5 separate regions of the Homo sapiens genome follow, and all the other regions are linked to region 1. Evidence: promoter capture Hi-C in 16 types of primary human blood cells and fetal thymus (Javierre and others, 2016). All regions are on one chromosome and are shown on one strand. The core of a region is centred on a gene start or on the middle of the fragment in contact, and the rest is flanking DNA. Distances in the headings are between cores, read along the strand shown.

Evidence for each region. Contacts are between HindIII fragments. The CHiCAGO score rates a contact against its expected background, and 5 or more counts as called.
Region 2: a fragment that was not itself captured here is called in contact with the fragment with the promoter of SFTPB in region 1 in 2 of 17 cell types (fetal thymus and M1 macrophages); the score reaches 6.2 in fetal thymus.
Region 3: a contact is called between a fragment that was not itself captured here and the fragment with the promoter of SFTPB in region 1, in 3 of 17 cell types (neutrophils, M0 macrophages and fetal thymus). The highest score is 6.9, in neutrophils.
Region 4: a fragment that was not itself captured here is called in contact with the fragment with the promoter of SFTPB in region 1 in 1 of 17 cell types (monocytes); the score reaches 6.6 in monocytes.
Region 5: a contact is called between a fragment that was not itself captured here and the fragment with the promoter of SFTPB in region 1, in 1 of 17 cell types (neutrophils). The highest score is 6.3, in neutrophils.

What each region holds. Positions count from the first base shown.
Region 1 is chr2:85,666,919-85,669,538 of GRCh38, forward strand. It overlaps SFTPB (surfactant protein B), which reads right to left and starts at 1,281. Exons shown (of 11, transcript NM_000542.5): 1 at 1,199-1,281; 2 at 761-888; 3 at 188-259. The coding sequence starts at 1,265. The HindIII fragment of the contact is 15,484 bases long and covers 1-2,620 here.
Region 2 is chr2:86,131,923-86,134,542 of GRCh38, forward strand. PTCD3 (pentatricopeptide repeat domain 3) reads left to right here. Exons shown (of 24, transcript NM_017952.6): 17 at 396-502; 18 at 1,256-1,334; 19 at 1,424-1,514; 20 at 2,370-2,455. Among named protein-coding and RNA genes, the nearest start is that of SNORD94, 2.6 kb to the right of the region's middle. The HindIII fragment of the contact is 3,229 bases long and covers 1-2,620 here.
Region 3 is chr2:86,086,418-86,089,037 of GRCh38, forward strand. It overlaps POLR1A (RNA polymerase I subunit A), which reads right to left. Exons shown (of 34, transcript NM_015425.6): 5 at 2,368-2,453; 6 at 2,149-2,252. Among named protein-coding and RNA genes, the nearest start is that of POLR1A, 18 kb to the right of the region's middle. The HindIII fragment of the contact is 6,532 bases long and covers 1-2,620 here.
Region 4 is chr2:86,062,689-86,065,308 of GRCh38, forward strand. It overlaps POLR1A (RNA polymerase I subunit A), which reads right to left. Exons shown (of 34, transcript NM_015425.6): 14 at 2,586-2,620. Among named protein-coding and RNA genes, the nearest start is that of POLR1A, 42 kb to the right of the region's middle. The HindIII fragment of the contact is 7,905 bases long and covers 1-2,620 here.
Region 5 is chr2:86,045,811-86,048,430 of GRCh38, forward strand. POLR1A (RNA polymerase I subunit A) reads right to left here. Exons shown (of 34, transcript NM_015425.6): 19 at 1,355-1,453. Among named protein-coding and RNA genes, the nearest start is that of POLR1A, 59 kb to the right of the region's middle. RefSeq lists an enhancer at 1-620. The HindIII fragment of the contact is 4,266 bases long and covers 1-2,620 here.

The DNA of each region.
Region 1 (2,620 bases), core at 31-2,530:
ACCATCTCTGGCTGTGCTATTGAGCTCAGGGCCATGACCTGCTCCCAGCCAGGAGGAGCTGGGACTTCCCAGGCACCCAGGCCTCCTCCTCAGCCTGGAAATGGCCCCTTTAGGGGGCTCAGCTCTTCCCTGCTCTGTCCCTCATCTCTTGGGCCCCAACCTTCATCCAGGATCTGGGCATCATTACCTGGAAAATGGCCTCCTTGGCCATCTTGTTAAGGATGTGGACGATGTCCTCACACTCTTGGCATAGGTCATCCTGGGGAGGGAGGGGCCCCAAGGTGGAGGACACATGAGTGGGGGAGGCTCCCAGCTCCAATGGGGAGGTTCTCTTAGGAAGAGGCCAACAGAGCACTCCAAGGCACATGCAGCTGCCCACCAGCCCAACTTGTCCCATCTCATCCATATCAATTTATCCCATCCATCTCTTCTATTCATCCATCCCAATCCATCCATCTTTATTCTGTGTCATCCCATCCCATCCCATCCCATCCCATCCATCTTTATTCTATGTCATCCTATCCTATCCCTTCCCCTCCCATCCATCCCATCCCATCCCATTCATCCGACTCCATCTATTCTATGTCATCGTATCCCATCGCATCCATCCCATTCCATTTTATCCTATCTCATTTCATCTCATCCCATTTCATCTCATCCATCCCCTATGGGGGCTCCACTCTCCTCCTGCCCATCCAGAGCCCACCCAGCACCCTTCATTTCAGACCCCCAGTTGCCATGCATCCTTGGTGGTACTCACGGCTCCCACATGTCCCCAGACTTCCTGTAGGCAATGCCCTAGGGCTCTGCACTGCAATGCTTGCTCCAGGCTTTGGCACCAGAACTCAGGGCCCTGGGCACAGGCCAAGGATGAGGTGGTCCAGGCAGCTGTGGTTTGGGGCCAGAGCAACCTTAATCAGGATCCAGGCTACACACCTGGCATCATGATTTCACCCACCCTCTAGACCCAGTTTTGCTGGGAGTGTGAGGCCATTAAACATGTGGACGTCAGACAGCTCTGGGTTCCACCTGCTCCTGGACCCGCCAGCTGTGTGACCTTGGATAAGCTCTGAACCCTCTCTGAACCCCAGCTGCCTTGTCTTTAAAATGAGGACAGACTTGGGTTAATGCCTAGCACAAAGCAGTGCTCAGTGAGTGGTGGAGCTGCCTAGGAGAGGGGAGGCTGGGGGAGACTCACCAGTGCCTGGGCCACAGAGCGTGGGCAGCAGCAGCAGCAGCCACTGCAGCAGGTGTGACTCAGCCATGGCACCTCTGCAGCCTGGGTACCCTGCTTGGTGCATGGCCCCTTATAGCTGGGCGGGGCGTGGGGGCTCTGTAGGAGTGGCAGCGACCTCAGTGTTTGTCTTTGCTCTGAAGAGCCCTCCAGGTGCTTGATCCCACCTTTTCCCAGCAGGAACACTCCTGCCTGCCTTACCACCTGTCCTGGCTGATGGCCTGTTCCTGCCTCCTTTGCCCCCTGCCCAGACTCCCATGTTCCTGGACTTGTGGCTTCCTCCAACCAGGGGCTCTCAAGCCTCCATACCTGGTCCCACCTCTCCAGGCCGTGGGAGGGAGGTTGAGGAGGGTGGAGGGCATCTGGTTGGGGGCAGCCTGGGTGTTCCCCTCCCATCCCCTCCCTGGGCCTCCCAGGCCCCCTCTACTCTTGAGCAATGCTCTTGAGAGCTTCCTGCCTGGCTCTTAACCCAGGGCAAGCCCTGGAAGGGCAGACCCAGGACACTCTCACCACCTCCTTACCTTTTCCCCTGGAAAAATCTTCTGGTTCTATGGACACATGGTTTGCATTAGTCAGAAGAGCATTTACACAAAACAGAAAACAAAATACCCTGAGTCAGAGACAAGATTTCTGTGGCCCTGGAGTGGCTCCCAGACAGCCCTATACAGGAGGTGCTGCCCATGGCCCCTGGGGACCCCTCCAGGGTAGGGGCTGGGGCATAGCTGCGATGGTTCAGCAGAAAGAAACTGTCCTCTGCAGCTGCAGGGGCTCTCAGGCAGGGCCCCCACTGGCAGAGCACACTGGAGAAAAAGCTCACAGGCTGAGGGAGACAGAGGATATCTTGAGTGGAAGAAAGAGAGCATTAGCACATTGCCACCACCCCAGCCATTGTGATCAATTTATCTGATCTCTGCAGGAGCCCTCTCCCTAGTGGAGGCTCACAGGCCTCTATACTCGGGAAGCACTACAGTGCTTTTGTGGGTGGACGGGCAGGAATTAGTACCATGATGAAAAGAGATGGGGCTGGGTGTGGTGGCTCACTCCTGTAATCCTGGCACTTTGGGAGGCCGAGGAGGGAGGATCCTTTGAGCCCTGGAGTTTGAGACCAGCCTGGCCAATATAGTAAGACTCCATAACTACAAAAAAATTAAAAAATTAACCTTGTGTGGTGGTGCATGTCTCTGGTCCCAGCTACTCAGAAAGCTGGGGCAGGAGGATCGCTTGAGCCCACCAGGTCGCGGCTGCAGTGAGCCATGATTGCACCGCTGCACTCTGGAATGGGAGTGTGAGGCCATTAAACATGTGGCCATTAAACATGTGACTGAGCTGAGGGTGTCCTGGCTCCTGGTCCCTGGGATGGGCAGTCTCCTGACACCATGTTGGCCA
Region 2 (2,620 bases), core at 42-2,541, 470 kb after region 1:
TCCAGGCATACTTTCAGGGTGTTTTATTTGTTGGCAGCAACCAGTATTTCATAGTAAGAACCATAACTTAACTTTCCTGTGGGTAGATTTTGGAGTTATTTCATGGAGATTTTTACTAGTCCAGACTCTGCAGTGCAGGTGTCTTTTGTGCACTTGACCAGGTGTTGTTACAGGATTAATTTTTAATGGTATAATTGCTTAATTAAAATAATATTGTAATAAATTTCACAGAACTTGGGATTTGTCTCCCCCCCATTTCTTATAACTTACTTGCTGTCAACCAATAATATGTTGAATCAACATTATTTTCACAAGACACTCTACTGTTGTTATTTATTTGTGAACCACTGGCTGACAGGGTATCAGAGTGATACTTACTACTTGCATATTTTCAGTGCTCATCTCTCAGAGATCTAGAACTTGCCTACCAAGTACATGGCCTTTTAAAAACCGGAGACAACTGGAAATTCATTGGACCTGATCAACATCGTAATTTCTATTAGTAAGTGTGTTGGAAACATATCCTTTTGCATGAGTTACCAGATTCTGCAAGTGGGAGGCTGTTGATGTCCCTTCATACCTCACCTCTGGTTTCAGGCAACATGCCAATGATCTAATAGGACATGTTAATTGAGCACTTAGGAATTAAAGCAGTGGTAAAACTGCCAGATTTGAAAGACTAGTTTGTGTCCTTTAAGGGTTTTTTTTTTTTTTTTTTTGCAACACTGTAAAATCCACATATCTTTTTCCTCTACCCCCTCTCATTTTACATTTTCAAATTGTTATAGCAGGGTGAGCCCTGAAGATTTCCTTTCACCTCCCTTGCTTTTGTATTCAAAGATGAAGATACTGGAACCTAGAGATACTCCCTAAATGGGTTTGCTTTTAGGCAGATAAGAACATGAATTTAAGAAGGCAGCATGTTAACAGATGTGTGAGAATTGTTTTCTGTGTATCCAAATCCTTGTTTCACATTGAATGTTTTTAAAATGAATTTGAAATTCAGTATCTATTCACCATGACCTAAGAGTATACAGAGGAAACAGTTAGAAATGACCAGTTGAGGGTAGGGTGTTTAATTGAGAAGTCAGCACACACTGGCAGCTCTTAAACCAAATATTGGCTCGTTTAACTTGAAACTGTAAGTATTTTGAAATTCTTTGTAACATATAATATGCTATAATTTCAACCCTTATTTCCCCTGTTGTTAGACATAGGGACTTTAGACTAAACATACTTTTTGCCTTCATCACAGTTCCAAGTTCTTCGATTTGATTTGTCTAATGGAACAAATTGATGTTACCTTGAAGTGGTATGAGGACCTGATACCTTCAGTAAGATGGTTCATTACTTGTTATTTATCATTCTAGATGAATTGGGTTTCTGCAGATTAATGCTTTAAAAATGTGTTTCTCTTAATCAGGCCTACTTTCCCCACTCCCAAACAATGATACATCTTCTCCAAGCATTGGATGTGGCCAATCGGCTAGAAGTGATTCCTAAAATTTGGAAAGGTCAGTTTTACTTTTTATGTGTCCAGGTGCATCTCACCTCAATATCCTCTACTTTGATAATGAATGTGCTAACATTACTGTTAGGGATGAAAACTTCCATTTTGACTGAACCAAATGTGTTAGTTGAGATGTACTTCAAGGTCATGTGCTCATGTTGCATGTTGGCTATCAGGAGAAAATTTTGTTGAAAATGACTTAAGTCAGTCCCTTCGTGACATAGGAATGAGCTGAGTTTTGTGCACCTGTTGCGGGATATGACCCAAAGAAAATAAATGCTAATGGCGTGGCAGACCCTAAATCTGAATAAAGGTCTTTGACCCGGAAGCCTGTGTAATTCCTCTGTGCCAGTGTTGCCTCACTTCACTAACCACAGTCAGTGATGATTCTGTTTCCAAGTAATAGCCATGAGCATCACGCATCACGGGTGTGTGTGTCTTATGTGTATAACTTGGCTGCAAAATGAAATAGATATTCTGTATCTTTCACTAGGTGACTACTGTATCATAAAGTCAGTAGGCTCTAGTCCCGCCCTCCTGCTTCACACGACTGCTCTAATGAGTGATAAAAGTATATCAAATTCCCAAGTGCTATAAAACAACGTCTTAACCACGTGGAGCTGGTGGCTGCTCCCATGTAGTGCACATGCCGTGATGAACACGTCACTGGAGCAAGGCCCAGGCATTGGCTTTTACATTTGTTCCACTGTGAATCCTGGTGGGTTTCTGGAATCCTGGGATAAGCCTAGAATAAATAACAGCAACTTATTTTTACCTACCAAAAAATAGGTTGACAGTGAACAAAAGTGTGTTGGTTTTACATAACAATGATCACTCCTTGTTCCTTTCTTGTTTCAAGATAGTAAAGAATATGGTCATACTTTCCGCAGTGACCTGAGAGAAGAGATCCTGATGCTCATGGCAAGGGACAAGCACCCACCAGAGGTAGGCCTGAAACTCACCAGCCAGTATATCCTCCCATACTGAGGTCTTCTTAAGGCTAGCTTCCCTGGTTTTATCTGCCATTTTGGAGAGTTCTGCTACCCAAACCCATATTTGAGTGATGATACATCTAAACATATCTTGCCCTTAGCAGAAATCTGTTCTTAA
Region 3 (2,620 bases), core at 58-2,557, 420 kb after region 1:
GGAACATGGTCAGACCCACGCTGAGGCTGCTCACTTTCCTCCACATCACCTGCTCCCCAGGGTTACTGATCTGTGTCACTTGCAGCCCCTTCAGAGAGCAGAGACCACATGGTCTGGTCTGTGTCCTGGCATTGTGCTCATCACAAACATGGTCCTTGGCATAATGCTGAGCACCCAACAAATAAATGTGTGCTAAATACTGAATACCCAAGCCTGGAGCTGTAGAAGACTATGGTCTACTTGTTTCTAATGCACAGACTTTTGGTTGCACCATCATATTTGCGTGGCTGCAATGAAAGATGACTTTAGAAGAATGGGTTTGGTGAAGGCATTGAAAGGCTACTTACCTGCCGGACATTTGCCCCACGAAAACTATCTTCTAGAAAGAATTCTGACCATCTTTGTTCTCAATCTATGAACATTTTATAAGGCATCCTAAGGGCTACAGAAGCAATTCCCAACTGGTAATACAAGAAAATTGTTTTGAGGGCAATTTAATGGTTAAGTGTAGGAAAATCCACTCTTACAGTGTTAACTACCAACCATGAAACAAAATTAAAAAGGCTTTCTAAATGCAGTGTGGTATCCTGGGTTGGATCCTGGAGCATAAAAAGGAAATTACTGGAAAACCAGCAAAATTTAAAAAGTCTGTAGTTTAGATAATAGTGTTGCACCAATGTTAAACTCAGTTTTGACAAATGCACCATGGTAATCTACTATGTTATACAGTAGGGCAAATGAAGTAAACAGTATTAAGGAATTCTCTGTACTATGTTTACTACTCTTCTATTAAGTCTAAAAATTATCCTAAACTATAACATTTTAAAAAAATATTAAACAGGTTTTTCATTTAGTCCAGGCCATGCCAGAGTGTTCAATGTAAAACATACATCATGCATCTCCAGGAGGGGATCTTATTTCCATGCTTATCCCATATTCTCAAACCCTGGTGAAAGGTTTAGTAACAGTATCTGCTATGGACTGCCATGCATGTAACTTCCTCAATTCTAGGCAAGAGGCTTTAGGAATGCCATTATATAGAGTTAGAAATGGAAACGCCTCAAAACAGCCTTCTATCTGCCACTCAGAAAAAGTGGCAGAGCCAAGTGACAATTGCAGGTTGTGCTTTTTCTTTCTTTTTCTGAGACGGAGTCTTGCTCTGTCACCCAGACTGGAGTGCGGTGGCACGATCTCAGCTCACTGCAGAGTGCGCCTCCTGGGTTCAAGCGATTCTCCTGCCCTAGCCTCCTGAGTAGCTGAGATTACAGGTGCCCGCCACCACGCCTGGCTAATTTTTGTGTTTTTAGCAGAGATGGGGTTTCACCACGTTGGCCAGGCCGGTCTTGAACTCCAGACCTCAAGTGATCTGCCTGCCTCAGCCTCCCAAAGTACTGGGATTACAGGTGTGAGCTACCGTGCCCAGCCAGGTTATGCATTTTCTACCCTGGAACACTGATGACATAATAAGAAATGAACAGTTAACATTTACATAGCACATATTACACAGCAGGTACCGCTCTCAGTGCTTCTCTTGGAATACTCTATTTAATCTTCTGACCACTTCAGAATAAAAACCAAAAAACATTTTTAAATAAGCCTATGACTATAAAAATTAAAAAGTGGGAGTATTAAGTTATCTCAAAATTTTTCCCAAGCAGAGCTTGGGTAGGGCAGAGCTGAGGAAAGAATTCTACCTGGGGGGATCTGGGTGGACAGCCAGGAGTAGCCTGCAGGAGGCGCTCATGTTTTGCTGAATTCTTGCAGTTTTTCTTAAAAATTATTCGCCTACATTTTATTCCAAAATAGATCCACACTTGTTTTACAGTAAAATGTTTCAAAATATTTGTCAGGTAAATTTCTTAATTTCTTCCTGAAAAACCTTTCAGAAAAACGACCACCTAAGGCAAGAGGCGCCTGTGGGGCACTGCCTCATAAAACAGCCCCTCCCATCAGCTCTCCCATGTGAGAGGCCTGAGCTGGGCGCTTGCCAGGGTCCCCTCAGGCCTGAGAGGCCTGCACACTGTGCCTCTGCTGGCCCCTCCCAAATGCAGCAGAGAAACACGTGGTGAGGAGAACCAGGTATTCCCAGGGTTTAGGACACATCTGCTGGCCTCACATGGAGCTCCTCTCCAGACCCAGCCTGCTCACCCAGGGGCTCAGAGTCCTTCTGGCCAGCTGTCCTGTGCACCATGGCTGGAAACGTGATAGTCAACTTGCTGTTGTGTTCCTTTCGGACAACGGATCGCCCGGTCCTGTGCAGGAGGACAGTTGTGATTGAAGAGAGAAAAAACCCAGTAAGATATTTAATAATAGCAATGAGTGACTGCCCAGAGACGTCTCACCTGGCGCAAGGGCCCTGATACTTACTTGCAGTGGGGACAGCGCTTAGCATTCATATGTGCCTTCCAGAAGAGAGCAATGAGCTTGCTCTTGCTCTCACACACGTTCTTTACCTGTTTTTTTAAAAAAAGTCAGAGAACCTTGGAGTGCCATTTTGAAGAGAATCCAATATATTTACTTTATGGTTTTCACCTTTTATTTTTAACCAGCGGAAACACCCCCACCACCACTTTCTTAAACAAAATCTTCCATAGAACCCTAATACACTTGAGCTCTGACA
Region 4 (2,620 bases), core at 34-2,533, 400 kb after region 1:
GAAAGGGAGTGATAAAGTTCAAATCAACGAAACAGAAAACAGAAAAATAAAGTCAATAAAACCAAAGACTTTTTTTTGAGAATAAAACTGATAAACCTCTAGGCAAACTGATCAGGAAAAAAGAGAAGACACAAATTATCAATGTCAGGAATGAGAGAAGTGACACCACTACAGGCAATACAGATAGAAAAGGTCAACAAAGGAGCATTATGAACAACTTTGTGCCTATAAATTCAGTAACTTAGATGAAATGGACAAATTCCCTGAAAAACACAAACAATTAAAGCTCATTCAAGAAGTAGATAACCAAAAATAGCTCTATGTCTACTAAAGAAATAGAAATTTTAATTGAAAATCTTCCCACAGGTTGGGCGCGGTGGCTCAGGCCTGTAGTCCCAGCACTTTGGGAGGCCAAGGTTGGTGGATCACCTGAGGTTGGGAGTTCGAGCCCAGCCTGACCAACATGGAGAAACCCCATCTCTACTAAAAATACAAAATTAGCCGGGCATGGTGGCGCATGCTTGTAATCCCAGCTACTTGGGAGGCTGAGGCAGGAGAATTGCTTGAATCTGGGAGGTGGAGGTTGCGGTGAGCCAGGATCACACCATTGCATTCCAGCCTGGGCAGCAAGAGCAAAACTCCATCTCAAAAAAAAAAAAAAAAAAAAAAAAAAAGAAAGAAAACCTTGCCACAAAGAAACTCTAGGCCCAGATGCCTTCACTGGTGAATTCTACAACACATTTAAGGAATAAATAATATGAATACTGTACTACACAAACTCTTACAGAAAACCAGAGGAAATACCTCCTAACACCTCATTCTGTGAGGCCAGGATTACCCTGATACCAAAACCAAACAAACATATTATAAGAAAATAAAACTACAGACCAATATCTATCACAAACACAGAAGTAAAAAAATTCTAGACAAAATATTAGCAAATTGAATTCAATAATATATAAAAAGGATAATACCTCACGACCAAGGAAGGTTTATCCAGGAATGCAAGGTTGGCTTAAAAAGGAAAATCAAGTTCCAGGTCCACAGACTAAGAACTGGAGAGCAGGAAGAGACCTTAGAGATCATGAACTTGAAGCTGAAGTCATTGATTTGGGACCCTTTTTCTTCTTTTCAACCTAGGCATTTTATGTATAAATTTCCCCCTTAAGTTCTGCTTCAGTGGCATCCCACAAATTTTGTTGTGTTTTCATTTCATCTACTTCAGAATGCTTTCTAATTTCCCTTTAGATTCTTTTGACCCATGAGCTATTTAAGAAGTACGTTATTTAGAAGTACAAATATTGAGGGCTTTTCCAAATATCTTGGTTGCTGATTTCCAAATTCCATTATGCCCAGAGGCCACATCTTGAATCCTTTTAAAATCCTCTGTACCAAATAAAATTAGGAAATAGGTCCAGGTTTTGCTTCTGTCACGGGTGAGATTTTTTAGTGTGTCTCTAAAGGTTGGTACGGGCTTTTTTTTTGCCAACAGGTGAAAAGGGCAAGAGTGACTACACTATGCAAGAATTTGTTTGTGGGTTAGTCTGGTTTCAAAGAGAAAAACCATGTTTAGAATCAGAACTTAGCTTAGCAAGTTAATTTCTACTGTCCCAGGAAATGATGAGGAACTGAGACACACAGGGCTAAGATCACATAGCCAATTAGAAGTTGATCCTTAAGGCTGAACTTGGATACTCAGGCAACAGCAGAAGAACATATTTTACTGTTTTTCATTATTTGGTCGCCACATATCATGTAATTTGGTTACTTTGAGAGGAAGTATGGTATGATGCTTCTGGGGTTGAAAAGTCCTGGGTTTGATCTGTCTCCTGTAGTCTTGGGCATGTAATTTATCATCTCCTAAATGGAGATAATAATGGTGTCTGCATTGCAGATTAGTCGTGAGTATTAAATCAGATAATGTGTCTAAAGCACTCAGCAAACATATGGAACTTCCCAACAAATATTACTATTACTCCACCAGCACCACTGCCTATTACCACCATATTTGTATTATGAGGACACCAAATTTAAGTTAGAAGCAAAGGACAGAAACTATGCAGTCTACTTTTTTTTTTTTTGTGGAGACGGAGTCTCACTCTGTTGCCCAGGCAGGAGTGCAGTGGCTGATCCTGACTCACTACAACCTCCACCTCCTGGGTTCAAGCGATTCTCTTGCCTCAGGCTGAGGCGATTCTCTTGCCTCAGCCTCCCGGTAGCTGAGATTACAGGCACTAATCCCACGCCCAGCTAATTTTGTACTTTTAGTAGAGATAGGGTTTCACCATGTTAGCCAGGCTGGTCTCAAACTCCAGACCTCAGGTGATCTGCCCGCCTCAGTCTCCTAAAGTGTTGGGATTACAGGTGTGAGCCACTGCACCAGGCTACTATGCAGTCTACTCTTGCTAGACACTCCCTTGAAGCCACCCAGACTCAGGAACCCCAAACAAAGGGGAAAGAAAGTCAGACTATTGCTGGCTTAGCCATTTCTCTGTCTCTGGTCTGGACTCTTCTGAGAATAAAACCTTTTACATGAGTGGCCTATTTCCTTTTGTTACATACACTGGCTGTTCTCTCCCAATTACCTGTTTTCCTGTCCACAGCGGAAAGGGCTTCAGGA
Region 5 (2,620 bases), core at 69-2,568, 380 kb after region 1:
TGTGTTTAACAGTGCTTTGTCCCAGCAGGGAAAGTATAATCTGACCTTGAAGAAAAGCTGCATGGAAACCGAGTTCTTGAAGGCTAACCTACATTTCTAAACAAACCAGGAAGCCTTCATTTTAAGAAAAAAAAAATACCTTCCTTTGGTTGACTGATCTGGATTTTCACATTTGGGGTCAGTTGAAAATGGGTGCTCTCTATAAAAAGAGCCATGTCTCAGAACCATCTCATGTTATACCTGTAAAGGACTGGAGGGTCCTGATGGGGAAAGAGAGGCCTGCAGGAAACAGCCATTTATTGCGATCCTCACATTCTAGAGCCAAAAGGGAACTCAGGGCCGGGTGTGGTGGCTCACATCTACAATCTTAGCACTTTGCGGGGCTGAGGCAGGAGGATCCCTTGAGCCCAGAAGTTTGAGACCACCCTGGGCAATACAGGGAGACTCTGTCTTATTTTCAATTAAAAACAAAACAAAACAAAACACAACAACAACAACAACAAAATGGGAACTCAAGCTATTGAGCTATTTGCTTAGAAAGCTGCCTGTTAATACTCTTGGCGTGTTGGAGGAGAGCAGTATATCTAGGTTTCGATGTAGTCAGGGGATTTCCTAACGGCTTTCGGCCTTTCTGTTGTCACACTCAACAGACAATGGGGTGGGCCTTTAGACCCTCTCAAGGTCACCAAGGTTTAAGGTTAAGAAATCTCTAGGACAATGTTTATGTTTATAATTTAATATTATGAAAAGATCGGCCAGGTGCGGTGGCTCATGCCTGTAATCCCAGCACTTTGGGAGGTCGAGGTGGGCAGATCACGAGGTCAAGAGATTGAAAGCATCCTGGCCAACATGGTGAAACCCCGTCTCTACTAAAAATACAAAAATTAGCCAGGCATGGTGGCGCATGCCTGTAATCCCGAGAGGCAGGAGAATCTCTGGAACCTGGGAGGCAGAGGTTGCAGTGAGCCAAGATTGCGCCACTGCACTCCAGCCCGGTGACAGAGCAAGACTTCATCTCGAAAAAAAACGAAAGAAAGAAAGAAACAATCATGCAAAATTACGTAAAAATTGTGTGAGTATACATAATTTATCTATATAACGTGAATATATGTAATAGTACAGTTTGTAAATTTGTAATATATATCTACGTTATACATATCCCATCTGCATATTCATAACTACATCTGCCTTTAACATTGGCATGTTAACAGTGGTTAGCTCCTGTAGTGATTTCTACACGCTTTCCTCTTTTTACTTGTCATGTTTTATAGGGAACAAACTGAAACCACCTCCTGCTATCCCCCACCTGCCTTTGCTGACACCTGTAAAGCTGCCAACCCGCCTCTGCACATACCTGCATCGTGTTCACAGTTGAACCTTTGGCTCCCGACTGCACCATCATCTGCAGGCTGTTCTCTGGGAACTGTCTGTGTAGGCCAAAAGGCATGCATGCCTGCAGATTAAATCAGCACAGTGGTCAGTGACTTCACCTTCTTTAAAAATCCCAGAATCAGGATGTAAATCCAGGAAGCAGAAGCAATACAGCCAGAATATTTATTCAGACCTAAGTACCAAATCCCACTCGAGGTAAGAGAAAGCCTCATTCAGCATTAATCCTTCCCTGGAACCCCTGAGAGGTCAAACAGGTGCTCCCTGCCCTGCACTCGCTGGACTTCCTCTGCCAGGATCCCCGAGGTTTCATTCATTGGCCAAAGAGCAGCAAAAAGGGAGAAGGAAAAGGAGAAGTAGAGGGGCTGGCAGATCCAGTTCGTGATTCTAAAAAGAAGCTGGAGAAGAATAAAATTTAAGGTGATGCCCTTGATTCGCCCAGCAGAGCCTGGCCTGGGTCCTCTCCCAGCGTGAATACCAACATCCGCATCATGTCACATTTACGAACATGCCACCCAAGCCCCATGTAGGAAGCTCTGTCTTGGCTCAAGAGCCAGCAGAACCAAGCATGCCCCTTCAGGGGGATCCTGGGGAGATGCTGAGAAGGGGGCTCTGAGTCTGGGGCTTCTAGCCTGTGCCTGGAATTCCACAGACTTGGCCCAACACAGGAGAGGCAGAGCCTGGGTGGGCGGAGGTGGTGGGAAGAGGGCAACTGGAGGGACAAGAAACCATTCTGAGATGCATCTGAAGACAACTTCCCTACTCCTAGCATCCCCAGTCAGCCCTAGAAGCTGAGCTTCCTGGTTCTCAGGGAGGTGCTAGGAAAGCTCCTGTCAACAAAACCCCTCAAGGATGGAACCTGTCCCCATGAGAAGTCGGTCTTCTCAGCAGCCTAAGGGATGCTAAAAGCCAGGCAAGAGAGCACTACAGACGAACTTTGACTTTTGATGAGTGTTGGCATTGCCTCCTCCTCCCCACTCCTCAGGCTGGGCCCCAGGGCCCAGGAGGCAGGGTGAGGGCCAGGCCAGCTCCTCCAAGCAGCAGGATGGAGAACCCTGGCTCTGGGGCAGAAAGGCAGAGAAAAGCAGGCTGTGGTTTCAGCTCATGCAGAGATTTCCCCTCTCCTTTCTCAACTGCCCAGGAACTGGCTTGGCATTGTGTACTAGTAGCTCCTGAAGCCTCTCTGCAGCCCTGTGAGGTGGTGCCCCTCACAGCCCCACTTCCAGGTGAG